Regions from separate parts of the Homo sapiens genome. Here regions 1, 2 and 3 are each linked to region 4. Evidence: promoter capture Hi-C in 16 types of primary human blood cells and fetal thymus (Javierre and others, 2016). All regions are on one chromosome and are shown on one strand. Each heading gives the region's core, a stretch centred on a gene start or on the middle of the fragment in contact. The rest is flanking DNA. Distances are from core to core; before and after follow the strand shown. Region 1 overlaps OSTC (oligosaccharyltransferase complex non-catalytic subunit). Region 2 overlaps HADH (hydroxyacyl-CoA dehydrogenase). Region 3 has its middle 36 kb from the start of OSTC. Region 4 holds the start of GAR1 (GAR1 ribonucleoprotein).

Region 1 (2,932 bases), core at 78-2,577, 1.2 Mb after region 4:
TGCTACATACAAATATGAGTGTTAACGTGTAATACAACACAACAAACGCTTTAGAAAGAGGGTCTGTCGAAAATGAATACAATGTTTTAGTATTTATGTATTTTCAATTACATGGAATCACATATATGCAGCATATCATTCCCTAAATGATGTTAGTTTAAATATTATTACATTCATATTTTTTATTCCTTTCTCCCTTTAAGAGAACTTGTTTTCTGAACTGATCCCATGATCTCAGGATTTATCCAGAAGATCCTTAGCTTTTCTTCTCAAGCTTAATAAACACTAGGTGAAATTGCTAAAAAGCCATTTTTGCCAGCTGAAATAAGGCAGACCTTTTGTCCTCAATTATCTGATAGTATCTATTTCAAGTAGTTTTATACAGCTTTATAACAGACTTGCCTGAATGTAGGAACCCATCCCTCCATCTCCAATTGAACACCTCACCTGACTTTAGGGCATTACCACGCCACCACAGGCCACCTTTTATTTTTATTTTTTTTAAGATTCTGCTTTTGGCCAGGCATGGTGGCTCACGCCTGTAATCCCAGCACTTTGGGAGGCTGAGGCAGGCAGATCACTTGAGGTCAGGAGTTCGAGACCAGCCTCTGCCAAAATGGCAAAACCTCATCTCTACTAAAAATACAAAAATTAGCCTGGCATGGTGGCACATGCCTGTAATCCCAGCTACTCGGGAGGCTGAGGCAGGAGAATGGCTTGAACCTGGGAGGCGGAGGTAGCAGTGAGCCGAGACCGCGCCATTGCACTCTAGCCTGGGTGATAAAGCAAGACTGTCTCAAAAAAGGAAAAAAGAAAAGAAAAGAAAAAGATTCTGCTTTTAAGTTAAAGCTGCCCTAAGAGTGGAGGCTAAAGACAATCTAATGAAGATTCATTATTTTTTCAGAAGAATCAAGTTCAAACGTGTACCAGTCTTCTACTCAGTAACCGAACATTATTTCCTTTGAGTCTATGTATATTTAAAATGCAGTGAACATACAGACGCATACATACATGATTTCACATACATTATCTCATAAATTATATTAGAATATTTTCATTTTCACAATGAAAATTACTCCTTTGAGACTGTACTAATAAAAATATTAGGGACTACGTTTAATTTTTTCCTTTTAAATGTACTGCTATGTGTGCAAAGCTAATAAACAATCATTCTTTATTCTTTTTTTTTTTTTTTTTTGAGATGGAGTCCCACTCTGTCACCAAGCCTGGAATGCAGTGGCACAATTTCGACTCACTGCAACCTCTGCCTCCTGGGTTCATGCAATTCTCGTGCCTCAGCCTCCCAAATAGCTGGGATTACAGGCGTGCACTACCACGCCCAGCTAATTTTTTTATTTTTTAGTAGAGACTGGTTTTCACCACGTTGACCAGGCTGGTCTTGAACTCCTGACCTCAAGTGATCTGCACACCTCGGCCTCCCAAAATGCTGGGATTACAGGCCTGAGCCACTGTGCCCAGCCAACAGTCATTCATTTTCGACGTTTCTTCAAAACTCAAGACATCAAATAAAACATGTTTTAATTAGTAAAATTATATCAATAGGGGAAACATCAGGTCTTTCAAAAAAGCATAAATCAGAAAACAGAACCAGTAATACTGTTTCAGTGCTACTGTTTTCTCCTTTTCAAAGGCATCTCTTGCTAAAGGTAACATCTTTGTAAAAAAGAATTCCACCCTGGAGGTTATCATGGTGCATCTTATGATACAGCCATCCTTTATCTCAGATGCTAGAAACATAGTTGATTTGGAAAAACCAGTGGCTATTGGTGTTTTTTTGACATCTTTTTTATTGTTGTGGTTAGTCCACTCACTATAATCAAACTGTTAGGTCATCATAGATAATTTGCATGAAAGAAGAAAGATACACCCTTTCCTTGCTGGGATAGTAACTACAACCCTGTTGTGTGTAATACAGGCCAACAGTCCTTGCTCATCATCTCCTCTGGGGCCTGCAAATATTCCAGGAAAGATAGTATCATTACTTCCATTTCTTATATAAAACTGTCCATTGTCTCTCCTCACTCCATACCCAAGGTACCAGGCATTAGGAGCTGCAGATGAGAAATGATATCAGAAAGGGAACCATAAATTCATCTTAAAAACTCAAATCCTAGATTTACAAGATACAGAAAATAGCAATTTTCTGTTTGGACCACTGTCCTGTTTTGATTAGATCTAAACATAATCTACAACCGAAACCCAGAAAGTATACCCTTTTTCCCTAGCCTAAAGTTTGGATTTAGTCAACGGTGTTACATACTAGCCTATAGAATGTGGACAGGAAGACAAATGTTCACATAAATGATTGCAAAAGTAAGATGAAGGTAATCCAGAGTATTAAACACTTGTCAAAGCTTTTCTGTCAGTAGCAGATAGCTCTATTATCCTGAAAGTCAAATGCCAAAGCTAAAAGATAACACCTATTTTCTTAATAGACTCATTCCTAGGAAGAGGACGTAAAACTATAAAGAAGGAAAACACTATGTAGAATGAAAACAGTAGGTAGAATGAGAACATATTTGATTCTATAAGCAAAACCAGGACACTTTCTCTGTTCTGACACATGCCTCCAAAGGTTTCTTTTGTTTTGGTTGTAAATTTTCTTTTCTTTTCTTTTCTTTTTTTTGAGATGGAGTCTTACTCTGTCGCCCAGGCTGGAGTGCAGTGGCACGATCTTGGCTCACTGCAAGCTCTGCCTCCTGGGTTCACGCCATTCTCCTGCCTCAGCCTCCCGAGTAGCTGGGACTACAGGCACCCGACACCATGCCTGGCTCATTTTTTGTATTTTTAGTAAGAGATGGGGTTTCACCATGTTAGCCAGGATGGTTTTGATCTCCTGACCTTGTGATCCGCCCGCTTCAGCCTCCCAAAGTGCTGGGATTACAGGCATGAGCCTTTCAGTAACCTCTTT
Region 2 (2,865 bases), core at 129-2,628, 1.8 Mb after region 4:
TGCCCTTATTACTGCTTTCCTGGTAAGAAATCTGGCAGCGACGGCCCCAGGCAGGTTTTACACAAATGCCTTGTCCTGCCATTCCCTCCCCGTCACTCCCACTTTAAAAATTAACAGCAGGTCAAAGAAGAGGAGAAATAGCTTCTGCCTAAATTACCAACTTTTACTTTTATAATCATTTGAGTGTATTACAATTTTATATTATACATTTTTTTCAATTCAAATTTTCAGACTGAAACATTGTTATTTTAGTAGAGTCAATTTATAGGCAATTTGCAACAGTGATTTCTCATGGAAAAAAGACACAGACAGACAGTAATCATTCAGATCTGTGGAACTGAATGACCATGAAAACCGACCTCCTGCAAACCATGCAAACAGAGATATGCTGACCCATTCAGCAGCAGCATCTTCACGACGAGCTGAATAAAGACACATCTTATGTCATGCCCAAAATGTAGGGCAAGACTCAAAGCTGCAGGTAGTAAAATGTTCTTATAAAGGCAAGATCCAGGTGCTGCTCGCTGCAGTGCTTCACAGACTATACCACTTGCTTGCCAGTGGCTTGTGACTCTCCCACGCAGCAACAGTGAGCATGGTGCACTCGCACTCTCAGAGGAAGTACTTTCCCGTTGATGAGAGAAGGAATCTAGGCAATTCTTCACAAAAATGACAAGGTTCAAAAAACATGTTTGCTCCAAGGCACCAAGGGTGTAAAGCTGTTTAGAAAATACACAGAAATGAACAGACTAAAAAAGGGAATTATTTCTTAATGGAGAATCTATTACTGCTGTAACTGGTGTAATAATCACTTCGATAGATTACAATCAAAATGCACATTTATTAAACTGTACTGTGTGAGGGAATGTCTGACCAAAGAGCATTCCCACAGGCACTCGGGGCACTGGCTGGAAAGCGCTCTCAGGTGTTCTTCTCAGAGCCGGAGAAGCTGCACATCACTTGTATTTGTAAAATCCTTCTCCAGTCTTCTTGCCGAACTTGTTCTCTGCTACCAGCTTATTTAAGGATGGGCTGGGCTGATGTAATGGGTTCTCTGCATCCATTTCATGCCACCCTATTGAGCGGAGGGAAGAGAACTCAGGATGAAGTGCTGGGTTTATTTTTACATCTTGGCATTTCCAAGGACAAGTCTGGAGGCCTGCCTCTGATGTGGGAGAGCCCCCCAGGCATGGCGCCCCTCCGGCCACCACTGCAGAGGCACCAAGGAAGGCTGTGCTGGTGCAGCCACATCAGCCCCAAAGCTGCTGCACTGCCACCCACCTGTGCTGCCTGAAGCCTGGCCCTACTATGGTCCTCCTGCTTATCCAGTGTCTTCTCAGAAATCACTACGGCCAAAGGCCCAAGTACACTGACAGAAGCCATTAATTTGCTGGTTGGATTCATCACTGGCACAGTTAACTTTCAGAATACACGTTAAAAAATCTGCATTCCTGCCATTGGTATTTTGCATCCACATAAGATTCAAAATTTAATTCTTCAACTAGCATTCTGTGAAACTTGGGAACAGATAGCTACATTCAACTTCAGTAGTCCAGTTTTAATTATTATTTTTACCCTGTCTTCAGAGCTTTTACATTACAATGGATATATTTTTTAAAATGGATGTGTATCTTGCTTGCAATGGAGGTTACACAAATCTATTGATGTGATAACACAGTGTACCAGTGTCAATTTCCTGGGATTTAATATTGTACTATGGCTATATAACCACTGGTGGAAACTGGGTGAAGGGCACACACACAAGACCTGTCTGTGCTATATTTGTAACTTCCTGTGAATCCATAAAGGTTTTTTTTTCTTCAAGGTCACCCTGTTAAAGAGACACTAGACAGTCACATTCTTCCTTCTCCTGACATCTGTTCATGAATTCTCAACCTGGTGAGGCAGGATTTTGGAAGGTCTTTATTAAGACCCCTGCTAACTTTTTTTAAAAAGGCATTATAATTTACAGTTCAGAAAAACTACCTCAATTAAAGACAACAAAAAATTCCAATTCCTACCATCCACGATGAACTTCGTAGTATCCAGTCCGACATAATCTAGAAGCTCAAATGGGCCCATGGGGTAACCGGCTCCTAATTTCATAGCAGTGTCAATGTCTTCTTTGGATGCGTCACCTAAGGAGAAAACGGCAGCACTGGGTCACCACCACCTTTCCTTGAATTCTCCCTATCACAGGATTAGCCCCAGAATTACTAGAATTTTATATGCTTGCACAATAAAAAAAATGCCTAGACTGAGACTTTCTGGCTTGGGTAAGATTTCCTCTCTAAAGTACATGCCAAAGAGGTCATAAGACTTTGTTTTTTTTGAGACAGAGTCTTGCTCTGTCACCCAAGCTGAAGTGCAATGGCACAATCTTGGCTCGCTGCAACCTCCGCCTCCTGGGTTCAAGTGATTCTCCTGCCTCAGCCTCCCTAGTGGCTGAGACTACAGGTGTGCGCCCCCACACAAGGCTAATATTTATATTTTTAGTAGAGATAGGGTTTCACCATTTGGCCAGTCTGGGCTCAAACTCCCAACCTCAAGTGATCCTCCCGTCTCAGCTTCCCAAAGTGCTAAGATTACAGGTGTAAGCCACAGTGTGTGGCCCAAGATTTTCAAAGCTACGCACCACTGAGGTGAATTTTGGAGTACTGATACCCTGTTCATGGAGACAGAAGTCTCCATGCCTGAAACTTCAGCTACTTTCAAATACATTGGGATTTTCCAACTCTGGAATCATTTATTAAAGTATAATTTAATGCTACAGCATATTTTTGATTTATAAATAAACTTTCTTAAAAAGAAAACTAAGCTTTCTGCTTTTGTATGTATAGTTATTGTATGTATTCTTTCCCCCAG
Region 3 (3,009 bases), core at 492-2,991, 1.1 Mb after region 4:
ATTATAATTATCAGTAGAATGAGTCTGCTGCAAATGAAGCTGAAGCTGAAAATATACATAGAGAGAGACTACAAAAAAATCAGGGGACTTAATGTGTAGAGATGAAGTTAGGGATATAAAGAGTTAAGATTAGTTCAAGTTGGCTGGGCAAGGTGGCTCATGCCTGTAATCCCAGCACTTTGGGAGTCCGAGGAGGGCAGATCACGAGGTCAAGAAATCGAGACCATCCTGGCCAATATGGTGAAGCCCCGTCTCTACTAAAAATACAAAATTTAGCTGGGCGTGGTGGCATGCCTCCTGTAGTCCCAGCTACTCGGGAGGCTGAGGCAGGAGAATTGCTTGAACCCAGGAGATGGAGGTTGCAGTGAGCCGAGATTGCGCCACTCCACTCTAGCCTGGCGACAAAGCGAGACTCCGTCTCAAAAAAAAAAGATTAGTTCAAGTTATAAAGAGGAATAGACAATGAGTAAGAAAGTTGTCAGGGAAGATATTTGGCAGAAAAAATTAACTCCAATTGTCCTGAGATGCTTAGATGCTTATAGCAAATCAGCCAATTCTTATATTTTCCTGAAGGGTTACATTGAGCAATTCATTGAATATTTATTGAGCATGTATTATGTCCAGGCACTGATCTATGTCTTGCCTTCATGTAGCTTATATTCTAATCTAGATAAATAAAATGAACAAGGCAATTATATAGTATGATAAACAGCACTGAGTGCTATGGAAAAGAAATTAGAAAGGTAGAAGCTGTAATTTTTAAACAGAGAAGGAAAGCTTCATTGAGAAATGACCTTTGAACAAAGACTTGAAGGAAATGAGGGAATGAGCCATCTGGGTAGAGGGAGAGGAAAGGCCATGAGGCAGGGTGTGATTGGTGTGTTTGAGGAACAGTAAGGAAGGCAGTATGGACAGAATGAACTGGAGGACTAGGAGATGAGATCAAAGGATGGAGAGGGGGAAGAGGCGATGTACAGGGCCTTTGGGGCCACTATTAGGAGTTGGGCTTTTATCATGAAGATTTTATCTGAAAGATTTTAATCAGAGGAATAAAACTTTAGCCAATCAAATCAGGAAGTGGCTTTGGTGAGTAGAGCCAAAACAGTGGGAAATGAGTGAACCTAAAACGTCTCTTAAAGAAGAGTTTGAGGCACTTCTTTCCTTTACTGAAATAATCTTGCAAAGGCTCCTTCTAATCTGGACAGTGCAGGAGAAACCTTGGTTTGGGGGATTTTCTTTTTATGGTCTGGCCTGATCCTCCTGCTTCTATCTCCTGTCTATCTGCAGACCCACCACAGCACAAGTGAACAGATCCCGGGGATCAAACGTAGCTCACCTTGATTGGAGTTGGGTGTTCCCCAAATTTTCAGTTCCACATTATTATGATTTCTCAGCTTATAATCCAAGATAGCGAATCACCTCTATTTTAGGAACATTTTACCAGCTTCATAAAGGGGTTCTCGTTTCTCATTTTTCTAAGTTTATAGTATAGCTTACCTCATTACTGAAGCCATGAACCACCTATATGAGTAAATTTCCTTGATTTATCCTCTTCTCATGCCTGAATTTAGTAAAATGAAATATAAAAGCTGCATTATCAAAAGAAACATATGTACATATAATCTTGCACATACAGTTTGGGTAGAATTAAACTAACATGCTTCCAAAGGGAAGTTATATGAAAAAATACTTTTCTAAATTTCAAATAAATGAGGCCATGTTAAATATCTATAATTAGTCATAGGTAAAGCAATGAACATACCCTTTGTAAACTTTAAAGCATTCTCCAAAAGTTATTTCTATATAAGTCCCCAAACATATGTCAAGATAGATATAAGATATATGTAATATATAATATTATATATTTTTTGGCCATGGTGGCTCACACCTGTAATCCCAGCACTTTGGGAGGCTGAGGTGGGCGATCACTTGAGGTCAGGAGTTCCAGATCAGCCTGGCCAATGTGGTGAAACCCCATCTCTACTAAAAATACAAAAATTAGCTGGGCATGGCGGTGCGTGCCTGTAGTCCCAGCTACTCGGGAGGCTGAGGCATGAGAATCACTTGAACCTGGGAGGAGGAGGTTGCAATGAGCAGGGATTGCACCACTGTACTCCAGCCTGGGTGACAGAGTGAGACTCTGTCTTAATAATAATAATAATAATAATAATAGATACTAACCATTGTGCATATTGCTCAGATGCAAAGGCAAGTGAGACTAAACTGATAAAACTTCTAAGTGCTACGACAAGTGGGTATGAATATATAGCTAGAGGTATGGTGCAGAAAATTTTGTAAAGTAACTAAGAAATAGAATCAGACCCTGAACTTAGGCACTTTCCAATCTAGTCAACTCTTTTTTAAAAAATATTAAAAGATTATTATTCCTTTGAGGCCAAATAAGGACACGTTCCTAGAAGACCCCGTTGTGGTTAGGAGCAGAGGCTATGGATCTCTACTGCAGGCTTGCCACCTAGGACCTGTGCAATCTTTGGCAAGTGACTTAATCTCTCTGAACCTCAGTTTTCTCATCTATGAAATGGCCTTAGTTGTACTATCTCATAGCATTTTATGAGGATGCAGTGAGTTAATATGAAAAGTGCTTGGAACAATATCTGGCATACAGTATTCTCTTAATAAATGTTATGCTCTTAATAAATGTTAGCTATTTTTATTACCCATATTTCCTTGAACAACAAAGCTTTTCACAATCAAAGAATAGCTTCTCAAGGAGAAGAATTAGGGGTTAAAAGGGTTAAAAGTTCTGAAGAATGAATCAGCATTTTTCTCTCCCTTGTCTTTCCCTGTCTGTTTAGCAACACTGATTAACAGCTCAGAGGAAGAGGTCCAGAATGAACTTGAATGACAAGGAAAACAACTAATCTTCCCTAGGCAATATCCTTATTAAAGTTTCACTTTAGTAACAACCAGGTTTTCACTGAGACAGGTTGGTTGGGGTGGGGTGGGTAGAAAAGGAAAAAGTAGGCCAGGCACGGTGGCTCACGCCTG
Region 4 (2,806 bases), core at 3-2,502:
CTTCCATTCCCATCTCATTGTTAATTACTCTAAAACTACCCTAAATAGGTGTTTTTCTAGATTTCCTCTCTGGCAGTTTCCCTCTCAAGCAAATTGTTTTCTCACTTATCTACTTTTGAGTAGTAACAGAAAGCATGGGCTTTGGAGTCAGAATACTTGGCTTTGTATTTCTTTCTTTTCTGTACAGACAGGGTCTCCTGCTTTATTATCCAGGCTGGTCTCTAACTCCCGGCTTCAAAAGATCCTCCCGTCTTAGCTTCCCAAAGTGTTGGGATTACAGGCGTGAGCCACCGCACCCAGCCTGTATTTCAGCTATATCACTAATTGATCACTTATCACTAACCTTATGACCCCAGCAAAAAAACTTAACTCTAAATCATAGTTTTCTCATCTGTAAAATCGGGGAATTAGGCATAAGTACTCACGATTACCTATTTAATATCTTCCTGTCAACCCTCAAGTTCCACCTCCAAGATGCATTCTAAGTATCCCTCAGCTTTCTTGATCTCCCCACTCCACCCTTACATGCTACATTCTCCACACAGGCTTGTGTATCCCAAACTTGCTGCCTAACAACACAAACCCCCAACCCACACCTACTCCTTCAAATAAGCTAAATACTGAAGACTGCATACAGACTACACGTTCTGGAGGTCCTTGGTCTTGGCCTTTGTTAAAGCCTCCGCGGCCACCCCCTCGTCCAAATCCTCCCCTGCCGCCGCCTCTGAAATTGCCGCCGCCTCCACCGCCGCCTCCACCTCGGAAGTGGTTGCTGCTGCCACCTCGGTTGAAGCCGCCACCTCCACCACCTCGATTAAAGCCTCCACGACCTCCGCCTCGAAAAGACATTCTCTCTCCTCCCTGATGAAAAAAAAACGACCTATGTCTTCTGATCACTGTAGCCTCTGAGTATACTCCAACCCCTCGGAGCTGCGGTGAGAACACCATAAAGGAGACAAAAGCAGCCCTGTCACCTCACCCACGGTCAGACAGCCAGTGACCACCAACCTGATGGGTGAAGAGTTTACTTCTCCATGGTCTCGTGAGCGCCGACCGACCACACACCACCCTTGCCGCCCCATGATTAGTATCTCCTCCCCCTACAGACAGCAAGGTCTTCGCACCGCATCCCCTTCCTTCCTCCCTCCCTCCGGCAGTTGGGTTCCACGTCCAGCATTTTCAAATCCTCCGGCTTCTACGGCCACTCACCGGCGCCACGTGCCCCTCTGGCCCTGGCCTTGCGCACACACCCACCCGCGGGGTACTTCCGCCGCGCTGGAACCTCCTCGGTTACCGTACCGCCACAGAGTTTTTTAAAGACCAGAAACTTGAATAACTGGTTTGCCAAAAAAAAAAGCCAATCACCCGCGGAACAAGCAACACTGGTTCCAAAACAGCCTTTAGCGCTGGAAAAGTGGCAATAATAGATAACCTTAACCACTAATTTACAACAGAGAGGCCAACTTGCCTGACGCTGAGCCGTGGAAGTGACGTATAACAGCGGCGTCCTTTGCAGCACGACGTCCCGGAAGTGCTGCGGCAATGTTGCTCTTGGAGATAGCTGGCGTTAGGGATCCGCCTTCTCTCCCAGAGGCGGGGCAGGTTTCTGTTTGGTTGCCGCCCTAACGGCCAGAACTAAAGCACCTTGCAAGGAATGAAGTTGGTTCTTGAAGTCCGTGCTGACTGGCTGGGCGCATTTGCGCATTTGCTTCTCTGGCTGCAAAATGGCCCGCAACAGCACTCACTAATTTGTTGCTAACTTCAGGAACTGTGCGGACAGGTCTCTGAGGCTTCTGAGCCGCGCTATGTCCAGTAGATCTGGGCGCCTCAGAACCTGTCACAGCCGACGGAAGCGTTTATCTGAGTTTCTTGTTTCTTCCCAACCTTTTGATTTTCGCACCATTACGCGCTCAACTATGCCTCTTCTTTTGTCCTATGGTCTCAACTAATTAAAGGAAGAAAAGCAATGCATGTGTGTGTGTAATTTTAAAGAAACTATGCTGTCTTATAGAAAACCAAACCATCATTTTTATCTTTTGTACCAGGTATTCAAGTATGTTTTGAGCACCGACGGGCTGTGAACTGGACTGTGCTGAAAGCTCCTCTCCCTCTTCTCTCTTTAAGCCCTTTATATTTGACATCAGCTTCCCCCACATTCTCCAAAGCTTCTCTCACAAATAAAGGTAATGACTTCCCATTTATTAAATTTGGTTGGAGTCTTTTACACCCAAACCCTCTGAGACCTTACCTTGATATTTGATCTCGTGTTTAGAAGAGGGTGGAACTTGGTACCTATCTAATTCAGAGGGTTATTGTAAATGGGATTTTAAAATACCTTTGTAGGCGGGGCGTGGTGGCTCACGCCTGTAATCCCAGCACTTTGGGAGGCCAAGGCAGATGGATCACTTGAGATCAGGAGTTCGAGACCAGCCTGGCCAATACGGTGAAACCCCTTCTCTACTAAAAATACAAAAATCAGCCGGGCATGGTGGCACACGCCTGTAATCGCAGCTACTCGGGAGGCTGAGGCAGGAGAATCGCTTGAACCCGGGAGGCGGAGGTTGCCGTGAGCCGAGATCACGCCACTGCACTCCAGCCTGGACGACAGAGCAAGGCTTGGTCTCAAAACAAACAAAAAACAAAATAAGTGAGAGAGGAAACTTTACTTGTTCTTTTTCTTTTAGTTTAGTAAATGCTGCAATTTGATTTTAACGAATGTTGGTCTTTTTATGGGCCTATATAAGTGTATTATTTTTGAAACAAAAAATGAAAATTACCTATTTAGTATGAAACCTTTGCTTATCTT

The links. Contacts are between HindIII fragments. The CHiCAGO score rates a contact against its expected background, and 5 or more counts as called.
Region 1: a fragment that was not itself captured here is called in contact with the fragment with the promoter of GAR1 in region 4 in 5 of 17 cell types (naive B cells, non-activated CD4 T cells, total CD4 T cells and 2 more); the score reaches 6.8 in naive B cells.
Region 2: a fragment that was not itself captured here is called in contact with the fragment with the promoter of GAR1 in region 4 in 1 of 17 cell types (total CD8 T cells); the score reaches 7.0 in total CD8 T cells.
Region 3: a contact is called between a fragment that was not itself captured here and the fragment with the promoter of GAR1 in region 4, in 3 of 17 cell types (activated CD4 T cells, total CD8 T cells and M1 macrophages). The highest score is 6.9, in activated CD4 T cells.

Annotation. Positions count from the first base shown.
Region 1 is chr4:108,659,484-108,662,415 of GRCh38, reverse strand. The region is part of intron 3 of OSTC (oligosaccharyltransferase complex non-catalytic subunit); the gene reads right to left. Among named protein-coding and RNA genes, the nearest start is that of OSTC, 10 kb to the right of the region's middle. The HindIII fragment of the contact is 2,101 bases long and covers 277-2,377 here.
Region 2 is chr4:108,032,449-108,035,313 of GRCh38, reverse strand. HADH (hydroxyacyl-CoA dehydrogenase) reads right to left here. Exons shown (of 8, transcript NM_005327.7): 7 at 2,022-2,138; 8 at 143-1,075. The coding sequence ends at 957. Among named protein-coding and RNA genes, the nearest start is that of HADH, 44 kb to the right of the region's middle. The HindIII fragment of the contact is 2,884 bases long and covers 1-2,820 here.
Region 3 is chr4:108,685,047-108,688,055 of GRCh38, reverse strand. No RefSeq gene overlaps it. Among named protein-coding and RNA genes, the nearest start is that of OSTC, 36 kb to the right of the region's middle. The HindIII fragment of the contact is 1,924 bases long and covers 780-2,703 here.
Region 4 is chr4:109,814,208-109,817,013 of GRCh38, reverse strand. GAR1 (GAR1 ribonucleoprotein) reads right to left here and starts at 1,252. Exons shown (of 7, transcript NM_018983.4): 1 at 1,210-1,252; 2 at 636-861. The coding sequence starts at 849. GAR1-DT (GAR1 divergent transcript) reads left to right here and starts at 1,632. Exons shown (of 2, transcript NR_186620.1): 1 at 1,632-2,183. RefSeq lists enhancers at 507-576, 747-796, 1,147-1,196, 1,207-1,606, 1,777-1,876. The HindIII fragment of the contact is 3,017 bases long and covers 1-2,167 here.